Regions from separate parts of the Homo sapiens genome. Here all the other regions are linked to region 2. The links are contacts of gene promoters, found by promoter capture Hi-C in blood cells and fetal thymus (Javierre and others, 2016). All regions are on one chromosome and are shown on one strand. Each heading gives the region's core, a stretch centred on a gene start or on the middle of the fragment in contact. The rest is flanking DNA. Distances are from core to core; before and after follow the strand shown. Region 1 overlaps CASR (calcium sensing receptor). Region 2 holds the start of POLQ (DNA polymerase theta). Region 3 overlaps CD86 (CD86 molecule).

Region 1 (4,435 bases), core at 183-2,682, 690 kb after region 2:
GAGGATGGAGGAAAAAGAGGGAGAGAAGAAAGAAGAAAGCAAACATGAGAGGATGGAATTTTATTTATTTCAAATGGAATTTAGTTATTTCAAATAAGTAATGGAAGAATCAGAGTGGAAAGAGTTATTTGTAAGGCCTCTGTATAGCAGGCTGACCCTAGTCATCTCTTACCCTGACCAGCTGGACAGGAGTCACTCACTGAGGCTCAGGCTATGTGGACTAATCCAACTTCAAAGTCAGGTTTATAGAAACATGTGTGGGCTTCTTTGGGGAAAGTTTATCTGAGACAGTGTTCCTCCGGACCAGCTTCGGGTGTCATTAGCAACAGAGAATCTTCTCATAGAGACAACTGAATGTAGTATGTTCCAGGATTTATTTTTTAAATGCTGGTTCCTGATTCTTCTGGGCAAAGCCGAAGAAGGCAGAGAGACACTGAGAGTGCACTGCATCAGCACAGATTGTGGAATGTTTAGGACCATTTCAGTTCCCAAAGAAAGAGCCCCTGAAGAGCTCATAGAAAGGGCTCGCAGGAGAGTAGAGAAGGACCAGGGAGTGCTGGACACTTCTAACAGTCACAGGTGCTGTGACTTCTAACAGTTGCAGGTAAACAGGGTCCCAGACCTTCCCATCTGGGACTGATGGATTGATTGTGAAGAATATATACTCATTCCACAAATTTAAAAAGGGAATTAATAATGAAAGACTTAAGTGTAAAGTAGAGCACCCAAGACTCTGCTCGGAAAGGTAGACGCAAATGATAACCACATAGGTAAATCCCCTGCATGTGGCTGGGAAGAGAGGGTGAGAAGTAGTCTATCTATGGTTAGTGGCCATTTTCTCTAGTTCACAGACCATGCATATTGATTATAGATTCAGAAAGTTACCCTAACTTTACAGCAATGACTTCTGAACTGTGCTTTCCTGGAATACTGGTTTCATAAGATGTTAGCAGTTATTTTGCAGGAGAAAGGTTTCAGGGAAACCGAAGAATGAATTGACATTGACAGGAAACTGTTGTGTATCCATTCAAAATACATTTTTGTTTGGCTGTGTTATCCTTGGAGAAAAGTAATAGTATCAGAAGAATCCTGGGCAATACAGCAAGGTCCTGTCTCTACAAAATTTTTTAAAAAATAGCCTGGGGTAGTGGCATGTTCCTATAGTTTTAGTTACTCAGGAATCTGAGGCAGGAGGATCACGAGCCCAGGAGTTCTAGACTGCGGTGAGCTATGATCATGGCACTGCACTCCAACCTGGGCAACATAGTGAGACCATGTCTCTAAAAATGATAATACATAAATAAAATTACATTTAAACAATCATTTTTAGGAAACACAATTTTTAGAGCTCAGAACAGAATATGACCCTGGACAGATGCATATGAAAGACGGTCTAGCAATGGCTTTCAAACTTCTTAAAACACAGGTTGCTGGTCCCACACCCAGAGTTTCTGATTCAGTAGGTTGGGATGGGATTCGTGTTTCTAACAAGTTCCCAAGTGATGGTGCTGATGCTCGTCCAAGGACCACAATTTAAGACTCACTTCCCTGCACCCGGCCCCATGCCCAACAGATAGGAGGCTCTTTTTACAGTAACAAGAAGTTTCTTTCTGAGGGTTACCACATTAAAAGAAATCAATTGAATGGGTTTCCACCATGTGTGAGGATATATTGGCTGACCCAGCATCAAAGTCAGGGTTAGAAACATCCATGGGCTTATTTGGGGAAAGTTTATTCCAGACAGTCTTCCTCCAGAACAGCTTCAGGTGTCCTTAGCAATGGAGAATCTTCTCATAGAGGCAACTGAATGTAGCATGTTCCAAAATTCATTCTTTAAATGCTGGTTCATGATTCTTCCGGGCAAAGCTGAAGGGGCCAGCTAATAAATCAACACATATTTCCTGACATTTCCTGACAGGGAGACATGTTCCTTCAAAAATGGGAACAAAATTCATAATGAATTTAGTGGGGAGGCATAGTTCTTCAAAAATAAAATTCAGTTTGAACATTTTCAATCTGAGATATTTGGGGATTAAAAAAACAGATATAGGTTCTGAAGGGACTACTCAAGCAAATGTATATTAGGAAATCAAGGAGGCCCTAGAAGGCCAGAATATGGACATGAGTCAGCCAAATTGTGGAGTTATGGACAAAAGCTAACAAACACATCTTGAAATCTCCAGTGGGACGCAAATTCTTTTAACCTCAGGTCAGCCCCAAATCATGGTACCAATTTCTGTTAACATGCTCTAAAAAATGACATGAAGAACTTAGAATAGGTTCTTGGCATATTAACAAATATATCTAGAAAAATATGAAGTAGTCCTAAGCAGAAAGGTTTGAAAGAAATTTGGATAGTTAAGCCTGAAAAAAAAGTGAAGGTGATTCTATCTTTAAATTAATGAAAATTTTTGTCTCTGGCCTTTCATTGCAGTGGTAAATTAGGCAAGAATAAATGGCCTTAATTTTAAAATAGATGTGATTTTAGTTAACTGTGAGGTAAAATCTTCTTTAAAATGGGGTAATGAAACACTGGAGGCTTGTTATTTTGGGCCTGGAAATTTGTAGAGATGCTAATTGTAGCTAACAGTACTTATGCTTTTTTTTTTTTTTTTTTGACAGAGTCTTGCTCTGTCACCAAGCTGGAGTGCAGTGGTGTGATCTTGGCTCACTGCAACCTCCACCACCCGGGTTCAAGCGATTCTTCTGCCTCAGCCTCCCAAGTAGCTGGGATTACAGGAGTGCACCACCACGCCCGACTAATTTTTGTATTTTTAGTAGACATGGAGTTTCATCATGTTGGCCAGGATAGTCTCAATCTCCTGACCTCATGATCCACCCACCTCAGCCTCCCACCTTGGGATTATAGGCATGAGCCACCACACCTGGCCGAAGTGTCTTTAAAATTCCACAGAGCTCTTCCTTGGTTCCTGCACAATCTCAAAGCCAATTGAAAGAATTGCCATACTATTGAAAAAGTCCAAATGCCCACCAATGGGAAAATGAATGAATAAATTGTGACATATTCACGCAGTGGAATATTATACCGCAGTTAAAATCATGGATTATAGTAAAGTACAACAATATAGATGAATTTTATTAATACGATATTAAGTGAAAGAAACTCAGAAGATTACATATAGTATGATACCCTTTTATGAAGCTTAAAACAACTAAAATTTTAAATACATTTTGGGAACATAGGTAGATACAATATAATCATATAAAAGGAAGACAAGCAATGACCACAATGAAAAAGACTGGCAGTACCAAGGGTGGACAAGGACATGGAGTGATAGAACTCTCATAGAGTGCAGTGGGAAGATAAATTGGTACAACACTTTGGAAAACTTTTTGGTAGTATCTACTAAAACTAAAGATACACAAATTCTATGATGTAGCAACTCCACTTCTAGGTATATATTCAACATACATTCACAAAAAGGCATGTTTAAGAAAGCTTATAGCTGAGGGTGGAGCAAGATATCTGAACAGAAGCCTCCACTGATGGCTCCCCCCTGCAGGAACACCACATTTTAACAACTAACTACACAAAAAAGCACCATCAAAAGAAGTAAAAATCAGGTGAACAGTCACAGCACCCGGTGCTAATTTCATATTGCTCAAAGAGGCACTGAGGAGGGTAGGAAAGACAGCCTTGAATCGCTGATACCACCCCTCCCCTATCCCCCCAGCAGTGGCCGTGTGGTGCAAGAGAAAATCTGTGCATTTTGGGGAAGGAGAGCACAGCGACTGGGCCACTTGGCACTGAACTCAGTGCTGACCTGTCACAGCAGAGAGAAAAGCTGTGCTGGGCTCAGCTGGCATTCGCTGAGGAGGAGGGAGCATTTGGACCAGCCCTAGCAAGAGGGGAATCACCCACCTAAGCAGTCGGAACTTGAGTTTCTGCAAGCCTCACCACCACGTGTTAAAGTGCTCTGGGGTCTTACATAAGCTTGAAAAGCAGTCTAGGACAAAAGGACTGTAATTCCTAACTAAGCAATTCCTAGTGCTGGGCTAGGCTTAACACTAGAGCCAGTGGACTAGAGCAGCAGGTGACCTAGGGAGACACCAGCCAGGGTGGCTAAGGGAGTGCTTGTTCTACCCATCTCCCAACCCCAGGTAACACAGCTCACAGCAACTAAAGTGACTCCTTCCTTCTGCTTAAGGAGAGAAGAGCAAAGAGTAAAGAAGACTTTGTCTTGCACCTTGGATACCAGCTCAGCCAAGGTAGGATAGAGCACCAGGCAGAGTCATAAGGCCTCCATTCCAGGCCCTAGTTCCTTGACAACATTTCTAGACATGCCCTGGGCCAGAAGGGAACTCACTGCCTTGAAAGGAATGAGCTAGTCCTGACAGAATATATCACCTGCTGACTAAAGAGCTCTTGGGCCCTGAATAACCAACGGTGATACCCAGGTAGTGTGCCATGGGC
Region 2 (4,418 bases), core at 1,253-3,752:
AATCCAACCAGTCTAATTCCACTGCCTGAACTTATATCTGCTGATAATTATTTAATTCGTCCTTACAGCCATAATGAAAAATCTGTGTGACTCATAATTTCGGAGAAAACTGACACAAAGGAATTGCATCTTACCAAATGATTAGATTTAAAGTCAGTGTAGTAAGCATGCGTTAAAAATTGTGTATGCCATAGTTGCCCATGAAAACCCATATAGGGCCGGGCATGGTGGCTCATGCCTGTAATCCCAGGACTTTGGGAGGCTGAGGTGCGTGGATCACCTGAGGTCAGGAGTTCGAGACCAGCCTGACCAAGATGTGAAACCCCGTCTCTACTAAAAATACAAAAATTAGCTAGGCATGGCAGCGGGCATCTGTAATCCTAGGTACTCAGGAGGCTGAGGCAGGTGAATCACTTGAACCCGGGAGGCAGAGGGTGCCGTGAGCCGAGACAACTCCATTGCACTCCAGTCTGGGCGACAGAGCAAGACTCCATCTCAAAAAAAAAAAAGAAAACCCATAAAAATTTTATATAAAGTATATTACTTGTTGTTTGTATATACAACCCTGTACAAACAGGTCAATCTATAGCTGGGCACGGTGACTCACACCTATAATCCCAGCACTTTGGGAGGCTAAGGTAGGCAGATCACTTGTCAGAAGCTCAAGACCAGTCTGGCCAACACAGTGAAATCCCATCTCTACTAAAAATACAAAAAAGTAGCTGGGCCTGGTGGCGCACACCTGTAATTCCAGCTACTTGGGAGGCTGAGGCAGGAGAATCACTTGAACCTGGGAGGTGGAAGTTGCAGTAAGCCCACATAGCGCCACTGCACTCCAGCCTGGAGACAAACTCTATCTCAAGAAAAAAAAAAGGTAAATTAACAAACATGTAATGATAATGCTCATACCCTGAAAAGCAACCAGGATCAAACAGGGGAAGGGCAGATTTACATCTCCCATTGCACACTCACTGGGATATATGTTTGTTGAGAATAATGGCAGGCAGAATTGCCCACTCTTTAAATTGTCATTTTTCTTGCTTCCCTCCACCCCAGTCAAACAATAAAACTTTTGTAATTTAAATATAAATAAAACTCCACTTTTCACACATATTGTACGATTTTCTCTAGTTATAAAGCACTGCCTCATTCACCTTTTAAACGAACCACAACTACCTCAATAGAGTATTCTTTACATTCATATCTTAAAAATAGTAATTAGTTTACATAAATTTGGATACCTGAATAAACTAAATTCTTTCCTTCCAGGACTTGTCCAAGCAAAAGGCACTCTGCCTGCCATTCAAACATCTTTTTTACACCAAAACTGTGGTATTTTTCCAGAACTGCTTTAGGAAGTCCCCAGTTTGCCAATAGTAGCTTGTCTCTTTCGTAGTCAGGAACTGTAGGCTTGCATTCTCCTTTTAGGAAAAAGAAAAAATTAAAATTTAATTTACTTCTAATATATGAGTTTTACAGTTAGCCCTTCACCGTGTGTTGGAATTCCTATGTGTTGAAATGAAGCTCTTTAAAGCACATCCTGACTTCAAGAATCTTATGAGAAATTGACCATGTATAGAAAAGTAATAAATTGTTATTTACTGCATATAATAAAAATTCCTTAAAAGCCTCAAACGAACAAAAAAGCGTGCAATACACAGTAGATAAAGAGTGTTGGAATTACGGGTGTAGTTGGGGGAGGAGGGCAATATGCAAGCATTACAAAGCTAAGTTAGGTGAGTTTCTATTTATAGTAAGTTTTAGTTCCATGACGACTGCACAACTAACGATTTTAAAAAACTGGGTCGACATCCACGGGACACCCAACCAATCTCATTACGAATCCCTTCCAGCCTTCCCCTGGACGCCGAACAGCCTGTGCCGTACTCCAGGCCCAACAATCCTGTCTTAAGGGTCTGTAAGGAGTACTGGGTACTACCAGGAACGAGCCGCCCAACAGATGATGGGATGAAGCTAACTAGGAAGTTGTTTCTCTAAAGGTCGAAAGATCCAGAAGCCACGTGAACATTAATACCAGGCGATCACTGAAAACACGCGTATGTCTGAACAGAAAGTGACCTGCCACACCAGGCCCCAGTCACAGAGAAGGGGAGTAGAAGCCCAATGGGGTATGCAACGAAGCAAGTCCCGTGGGGTGAGGACACCTCCCGACCCATGGCCCGGCGGAGCTGCCCCCGTTGCCCGCGGCCTCCCGGGTTCCTGGAGCACCTGCAGCTGCGGCCTTCAGGCAGCGACCAAGGCCGGGCGGCGGGCTCAGCACGGACCCGGAGAGGAACTGGGGGCTGGCACTGCTGTCACCGCCGCTTCCCGAGAACGAATCTGAGCCTGATTCTGAACGCCGCCGTTTCCCACTCCGACGCAGAAGATTCATGGCAAACTCTTCTCGGCCGATCAGGGCAAGCCACAGTCCCAGCGTCCTCCCTCTCGGGAGAACCCTGGCCTGGCAACAGCTGCGGACATCTTCCCGCCAGTCTTCAAACTCAAACCTCCCGGCCCGCCCCGGAACCATAGAGTTCTCCGTGGCTTAAGTAACCCGAAAGCCATAGACTCGTGGGGAAGGAGCGGCTCTCGCTGGCGTCTAAGACTTCCGGCCTCCAACCTCCTGGTTGGTTAATATGAGAGATAGATTAAAGAGGAAGAATACAGAATCTACAGTTATAACCATACTGACCTAAAAGCCTTCCTTCTCCTTTTGTCCATTTCTGGTTTGAATAGGAAGGCCATGCTAACTTCATAAAATGGGCTGCCCATAATAGGTAGATCAGGGAAGTAGCTCTTCTTAACGTATTGGTATTCTGTAAAAAATTATTTCAGATTGAGAAGCATTATGCAAGATAGCCTAGGGTTTCTAATAGAGCATAATTTCCTCCTTTCTCCTAGTATATGATGGTAGGGCAGGGCTATTTCTGAACACAATTTCCATTTTAGCCAGCATGCATTGTGAGGAATATGTAATGAGGAATTGGGGATTGCTGGCTGACAGACCCCTGAGACACTATATGAACGCCGCGAGGAAGGGGCTCTGAATATACCCCAGGGATCGTTATGAGCCAAGAGCTTAGTAATGCATCTGTGTTGTCCCTTTTGTAAAGGTAGAAGCGAACGAGTTCTGAACGTAAAACGGTGACCATTCATTACCTAGTTGCATAATTCATTTCACCAAGCAAAACTAGTAGGCCCTAAGCCTGACCTGAAGAGGCTGTGCAGTTCTAGAGCACTAAAAATCTCAAAAGGTCCAGTCCAATTAAAAAAAAAAAAAACACTCGAATACAATCTGGAAAATAGCATTCGAACCATCAATTCCTTCCGTGAAAACATTTTTTTGATTTAAATGACAATATTCTAAAGTTCCACGAGATGGCGACATTACTCCGTGAATGAAACATTTTTCTCTTGGCCTTTTACGCAATCAACAACTATTTACTGAGTATCTACTGTAAGCTAGCCACTGGGTAAATGGCAGTGAAATGGCATAAAATGGTTCCTGCTCTCAAAGAGAAAGAGTCTAGAGAATAAGGCAGACATTAAACAAGTCAGTTAATGAAGTGTGCCATATGCTTGGGCAGAAATGAAGAGTACTATTAAAGAAATAAAAGAGATCTCGCCGGCCGTGGTGGCTCACGCCTGTAATCCCAGCACTTTGGGAGGCCGAGATGAGTGCATCACCTGAGGTCAGGAGCTCTAGACCAGCCTGGCCAACATGGTGAAACCCCGTCTCTACAAAAATACAAAAAATTAGCCGGGTATGATGGCGGGTGCCTGTAATCCCAGCTACTCTGGAGGCTGAGGCGGGAGAATTGCTTGAACCTGGGAGGCGGTGGTTGTAGTGAGCCGAGATCGCACCACTGCACTCCAACCTGTGCGACAAAGAAAGACTCCGTCTCAAAAAAAGAAAAAAAAAAAAAAGAGAGAGAGACCCCTAGATTGCAGCCAAGAAAGAACTTTCTCAGATGCAGTGTAACTTAAGGGTTAACAGTGCAACTCTGGAGTCAGTCAGTCTAGGTTTGAAACTTAGTAGCTGTGAGATCTTGGGCAACTTGCTTAACCCATTTTTTGTTTGTTTGTTTGTTTTGAGACGGAGTGTCCCACTCTGTCGCCCAGGCTGGAGTGCAGTGGCTTGATCTCTGCTGACTGCAACCTCTGCCTCCCAGGTTCAAGCGTTTCTCCTGCCTCAGCCTCCCAAGTAGCTGGGATTACAGGCCTGCACCACCACACCTGGCTAATTTTTGTATTTTTAGTACAGACAGGGTTTCACCATGTTGGTCAAGCTGGTCTCGAACTCCTGACCTCAAATGACCCGTCCACCTCCGCCTCCCAAAGTGCTGGGATTACAGCGTAACCCTTTTGTGCCTCCATGTCCTCATCTGTATGATAGAGATAATAATTGTAACAACCTA
Region 3 (4,608 bases), core at 1,427-3,926, 560 kb after region 2:
AGACTTCATAAGGCTAGCAAATTACAGTTTTTGAGTGGCATTCCAACAGTAGAGTGTATTGCTCAGGAAGTCCTTAATTATCCTTTGAAACAAATTCCTTCAGCTGATTACGAAGGCATCTAGCTGGATTCTTGAGCGACTTGTTCCTGACATCATAGCAACCCATTGTAACTAGACTTCGACCATTCCTCTTACCCAAGTGCTGGGGAAGGGAGAGATTCTCAATGCTTACCCACCTATGGAATCCCAGTAAGTCCAGTTGCTAGGTGGCTTGAGGTCTGGGGTCATAAAATGGAAGGCCTGAAGTCATTTGGTGATCACAGACCTTGAGCCAAACTTTCCCCATTTAGTCAGAGAAAGGATTAGCAGCATCCCCCATGCCTGGCTCTGTGTGAGATCATGGAAGCCAGTGGTTGGTGAGGTGCTATGGAGTATAAATTGCAAAATACTTTCAGTTCCACTCAGAATGGATTTCAAAGTGATTTCCACCCCATGGGGAGGAGAGGGAGTCTGAGGAGGGATGGATGGAAAAAAAATTTTCATGTCATTTTCTGTGATCCACTCTGGAGACAGAGGCAGAGATTCTCTACAACAGCTGCTCAAACTATAGCTCTTGTTAAAATGGAGGTTCTGAATCAGTAAGTCTTGGGTGGGGCCAGAGATTCCGTGTTTCAGACCAGCCCACATGTGACGTGAATCTCATTGGTCCATACATCACACTTTCAGTTGCTAGGTGAAGAAGGGAGCACTCGATGAGTGGAAGAGAAAGCCGTTGTAATCTTTGGGAGAAGGGGCCTGGGTCAGCGGAGTTAGACTGGTCTGTGAGTGGACAGAATGGATGGGAAGGAAAGAAGATACTGTGAGGCTCTACAGAAAAAAAAAAAAAAAAAAATATATATATATATATATATATATATATGTAAATCAAGAAGACAGAAGCAGCTAAAGACGAAGTCATTTCCAGGTCCAGAAGGCACAACTGACAGCTGAGTAATAACATAACATTGACTGTTAATTGGCAGAATTTTTAACTGTGTGTTTGGTTTCTCCATCAGGTCATCTGTCCTATATTACATGACAATTTAGACTAAAACCAGTATTTCCTCAGAGACAATGCTAGAAGCTTTTACAGTAGGGGGCACTCTTGCATTACATTAAGAGCTCAGCAAAGAAGATGCAGAAGCCTCAGGTTTGCCTTGTAAGGTGATTCATAAACACACTAAATCTTCCTTAGGTCTCCCTTTCACTGTCAGGGTACGCATATAGATTTTCCTTCCTCCCTCCAATACCGGTACGCATCCTCTACAGGTGGTGCATTTTATACCTCAAGTACTTCACAGGGTCCTAGTGAGTGTAGTGAAATAGGCAGTGATTCATATTTGTGCAAACTCCCACTGATGCCTGCTGTCTGCTTCCCTAAGAGTTCAAGACCACCACCAACCCCTTGATTATGTGTTCTCACTGGGCCACTCTGTACACAGTTTAGTTTGACAAGTGCATGTCACTGTTATCTGTCCTTCTATTCCCTCTTTCAAGAGAAACCACATCAATTTAATTACTCCCCCACTTAGAACTCTTCAAATGAAGCTCCTCTCATCTCTCTCATCAACCCATCTCCTCCCTTTCCTCCTCAATGTCAACATGCCTTCACATAAATCCTGAATGATGAAATTTTATTTAGAACTTACACTAACTTCCTCTCCAAGGTGGCATCTAACTTCATATTAAGTAAGAAACAGCCTTCCCACTCTCCACCCCCGCACTTCTCACCCACCACTGCTTACTTTTTTTTTTTTTTTTTTTTTTTTTTTGCCAAGTCTCAAGTAATTCTGTAACCTAGAAAAGGTCCTACACAAACCCCGTGATCATTCACATTTAAGTAGTTGGGTGGCCCACATCCTTCCCACAAACCCCAAAGTGTCCTCAAGGACTAAAGCCTTTCTCTCAACCCTTCCAGCATGATGTCTATGGTTGTAAAATTGTCCAGGGTCAGTGCATACTGGGAGCAGCAAGTTTGTGGTGCCTGGGGTTTCCCCAATACTCCCAAAGCACATCCTCACCTGCCCATCTATGATTCATTTTCAGCATTTCACTCATGTGCCTTAAATGGTCATTGACCACCACAATCCGAAAACAGCCATCAAATTTGCCCAGTTCTCTTTCTGATCTCTGAAAGAGCTTAGAGAGGTCACTGAAAATAAAGGCCTTGGTTCACTATCGAAGTCATTTCTAAAGCATTTGACATCCTTGGAAGTGCTGGCCATGGGAGCAGCAGTCATAGGGGAAGTTCTGTAAAGGGAGCTATTTGAATTTCAAAGATGTTACTCAACGTGATTCCCCAACTAATGAAGTATAATAAAGGGGGGCTATAATTTATTACCATTATCAGCAATCTTTTCACCATAGCAGACCAAGGAATATGTGGATGGGAGGGGAGGGGAAAGCTTTTGGTGATGGTGTAGAAGTTATGGAACCTGTAACAGCTACAGTGATGAAAACTAAAATTAAGGTTATAGGAAGGTAACTGGTGGGTGAATGGGTTGTCTAACTCTACTGGTTTTTCCCTGTCTTGCAATTTAAATTCACAGAACCACAGTACTAGAAAGACCCTTGGAACATTTAGTCAACCACTTCATTAATCAGATGAGGAAACTGAGGCTCATAAAGATTGCAGTTTGTACAAGGCCACACATTTAGTCAGCGGTGAAGCAAGGACAAAGGTCCTAATCTCCAGATGCCAAGCAGATGTGCACAGTTCCAGAGCTTAATATCTTATTCTTCAGCATGATTACTGATAAGATAGTATCTGGGTATTGTATAAAGAGAAATGGAGGTTTTTTCCCCTTTCCTCTTGTTTCTCCCTCCCTAATCCTTAACCTTCTTTTTTAGGTGCTGCTCCTCTGAAGATTCAAGCTTATTTCAATGAGACTGCAGACCTGCCATGCCAATTTGCAAACTCTCAAAACCAAAGCCTGAGTGAGCTAGTAGTATTTTGGCAGGACCAGGAAAACTTGGTTCTGAATGAGGTATACTTAGGCAAAGAGAAATTTGACAGTGTTCATTCCAAGTATATGGGCCGCACAAGTTTTGATTCGGACAGTTGGACCCTGAGACTTCACAATCTTCAGATCAAGGACAAGGGCTTGTATCAATGTATCATCCATCACAAAAAGCCCACAGGAATGATTCGCATCCACCAGATGAATTCTGAACTGTCAGTGCTTGGTATGTGGTCAATGGTGTGTGTTCAGATTCTTAGCCTTCTCAGATGAGACTGCAAATGAGTTAGAAAAACACTGGAGGGGGACTTGAGGGGCCCAGGGGAAAAGGGGGGTCTATAGAGAGAAGGCAGAGGACAGCCACTTCTGGGAAGTGCATTTGAAGGGAGTGTAGAGTCTGGGAGTAGGGAACTGAAAGTCTTTTGTACTTTTTATAGTCTGCTTCTGAAGGATCAGTAAAAATCTGCTTTGGGGAAAAAATAGAGCTAATTGAACAAAGATAATATGGCTAATTACCTATAGTAAAAACCATGGATAATTTGGCCATCACAAAGTTTATATAACCATAAAGGCCTCAGATGTCTTACATTCATTTTTTCCTTGGGTCCAAGATTTTTCACCTACTAAATCTTTGCCTGGAGCTCCTAGCAAAGCGGACAGCTGACACATTTGGGTTTTCCCTTCAGCCTCCTCTAGGTTGCTTATGAGTTGTTTGCTGCCACAACCATGAGCCTGGTAGACAGAAGGGAAAAAAACCCAACAAACATAACCCACAAACTTACAAACCAGCTCCTCTGCTTCACGAGACCTTGGAAGGCCTAAATGCCACTACAGATTTTTTTAAAACTATCACACAGTAAAATTATTTTTTTTTGTTTTGATATACTGTTCTACTGATTGTATAGATCTTGTATAGATTTAGGTAACCGCCACAGGACATAGAGCATTTCTATCACCCTAAAAATTTCCCTCAGGCTGTCCCTTCATAGAGTCATACCCTGTCTGCACTCATAACCCTTGTTGGGCATCCTATAGTTTTGTCTTTTTGACAGTGTCACATAAGTGAAGCCACACAGTATGTAACCTTTTAAGCCTGGCTTCTTTCGTTTAGCGCGCCTTCGAGATTCACCCAAGTTGTTGCACATATCGAGCTTGTCCCTTTTTATTGCTGAGTAGCATTTTATTGTTTATCCATTCAACTCAGTAAAAGACATTGGGTTGTTTCTGGTTTGGGGCTCTTATGAATAAGGCTGCTGTAAACGTTCATGTACAGGTTTTTGTGTGAACATAAGTTCTCAGTTCTCTAGAGGAAATACCCAGGTGTGGTATTACTGGATCCAGGTTAATTTTTGATGAAACTTGAAAAGGCAGATCAACACCTATTCTAAAACCATAGAGTAAAACAGAAGCAAAAGTAAAAATAGAATGGAGAGCTGCTCCCTTTGAACCCTGTGTGATTTAAACTAGGCTGCAGGGCTTTAGGAATAGTTAACCAAGTGCTAAATCCGTGTTTTCAAAATGTGGTCAGGTACCATTGGAAATGTTTTAGGTGGGACACAGATAAGCATTTTGAAAAGCCATGTTGTATTTGTTTTAATGTATATTAGAA

The links. The method cuts DNA at HindIII sites, captures the fragments that hold promoters and counts their contacts. A CHiCAGO score of 5 or more calls a contact.
Region 1: a contact is called between a fragment that was not itself captured here and the fragment with the promoter of POLQ in region 2, in 2 of 17 cell types (total B cells and neutrophils). The highest score is 5.8, in total B cells.
Region 3: a contact is called between a fragment that was not itself captured here and the fragment with the promoter of POLQ in region 2, in 1 of 17 cell types (naive CD8 T cells). The highest score is 5.0, in naive CD8 T cells.

The regions. Positions count from the first base shown.
Region 1 is chr3:122,234,514-122,238,948 of GRCh38, forward strand. All of the region lies in intron 1 of CASR (calcium sensing receptor), which reads left to right. Among named protein-coding and RNA genes, the nearest start is that of CASR, 53 kb to the left of the region's middle. The HindIII fragment of the contact is 3,458 bases long and covers 1-3,161 here.
Region 2 is chr3:121,543,486-121,547,903 of GRCh38, forward strand. POLQ (DNA polymerase theta) reads right to left here and starts at 2,503. Exons shown (of 30, transcript NM_199420.4): 1 at 2,230-2,503; 2 at 1,242-1,421. The coding sequence starts at 2,392. RefSeq lists enhancers at 2,236-2,465, 2,357-2,651. The HindIII fragment of the contact is 11,524 bases long and covers 1-4,418 here.
Region 3 is chr3:122,100,623-122,105,230 of GRCh38, forward strand. It overlaps CD86 (CD86 molecule), which reads left to right. Exons shown (of 7, transcript NM_175862.5): 3 at 2,890-3,225. Among named protein-coding and RNA genes, the nearest start is that of CD86, 48 kb to the left of the region's middle. RefSeq lists an enhancer at 438-627 and a silencer at 3,670-3,739. The HindIII fragment of the contact is 469 bases long and covers 2,443-2,911 here.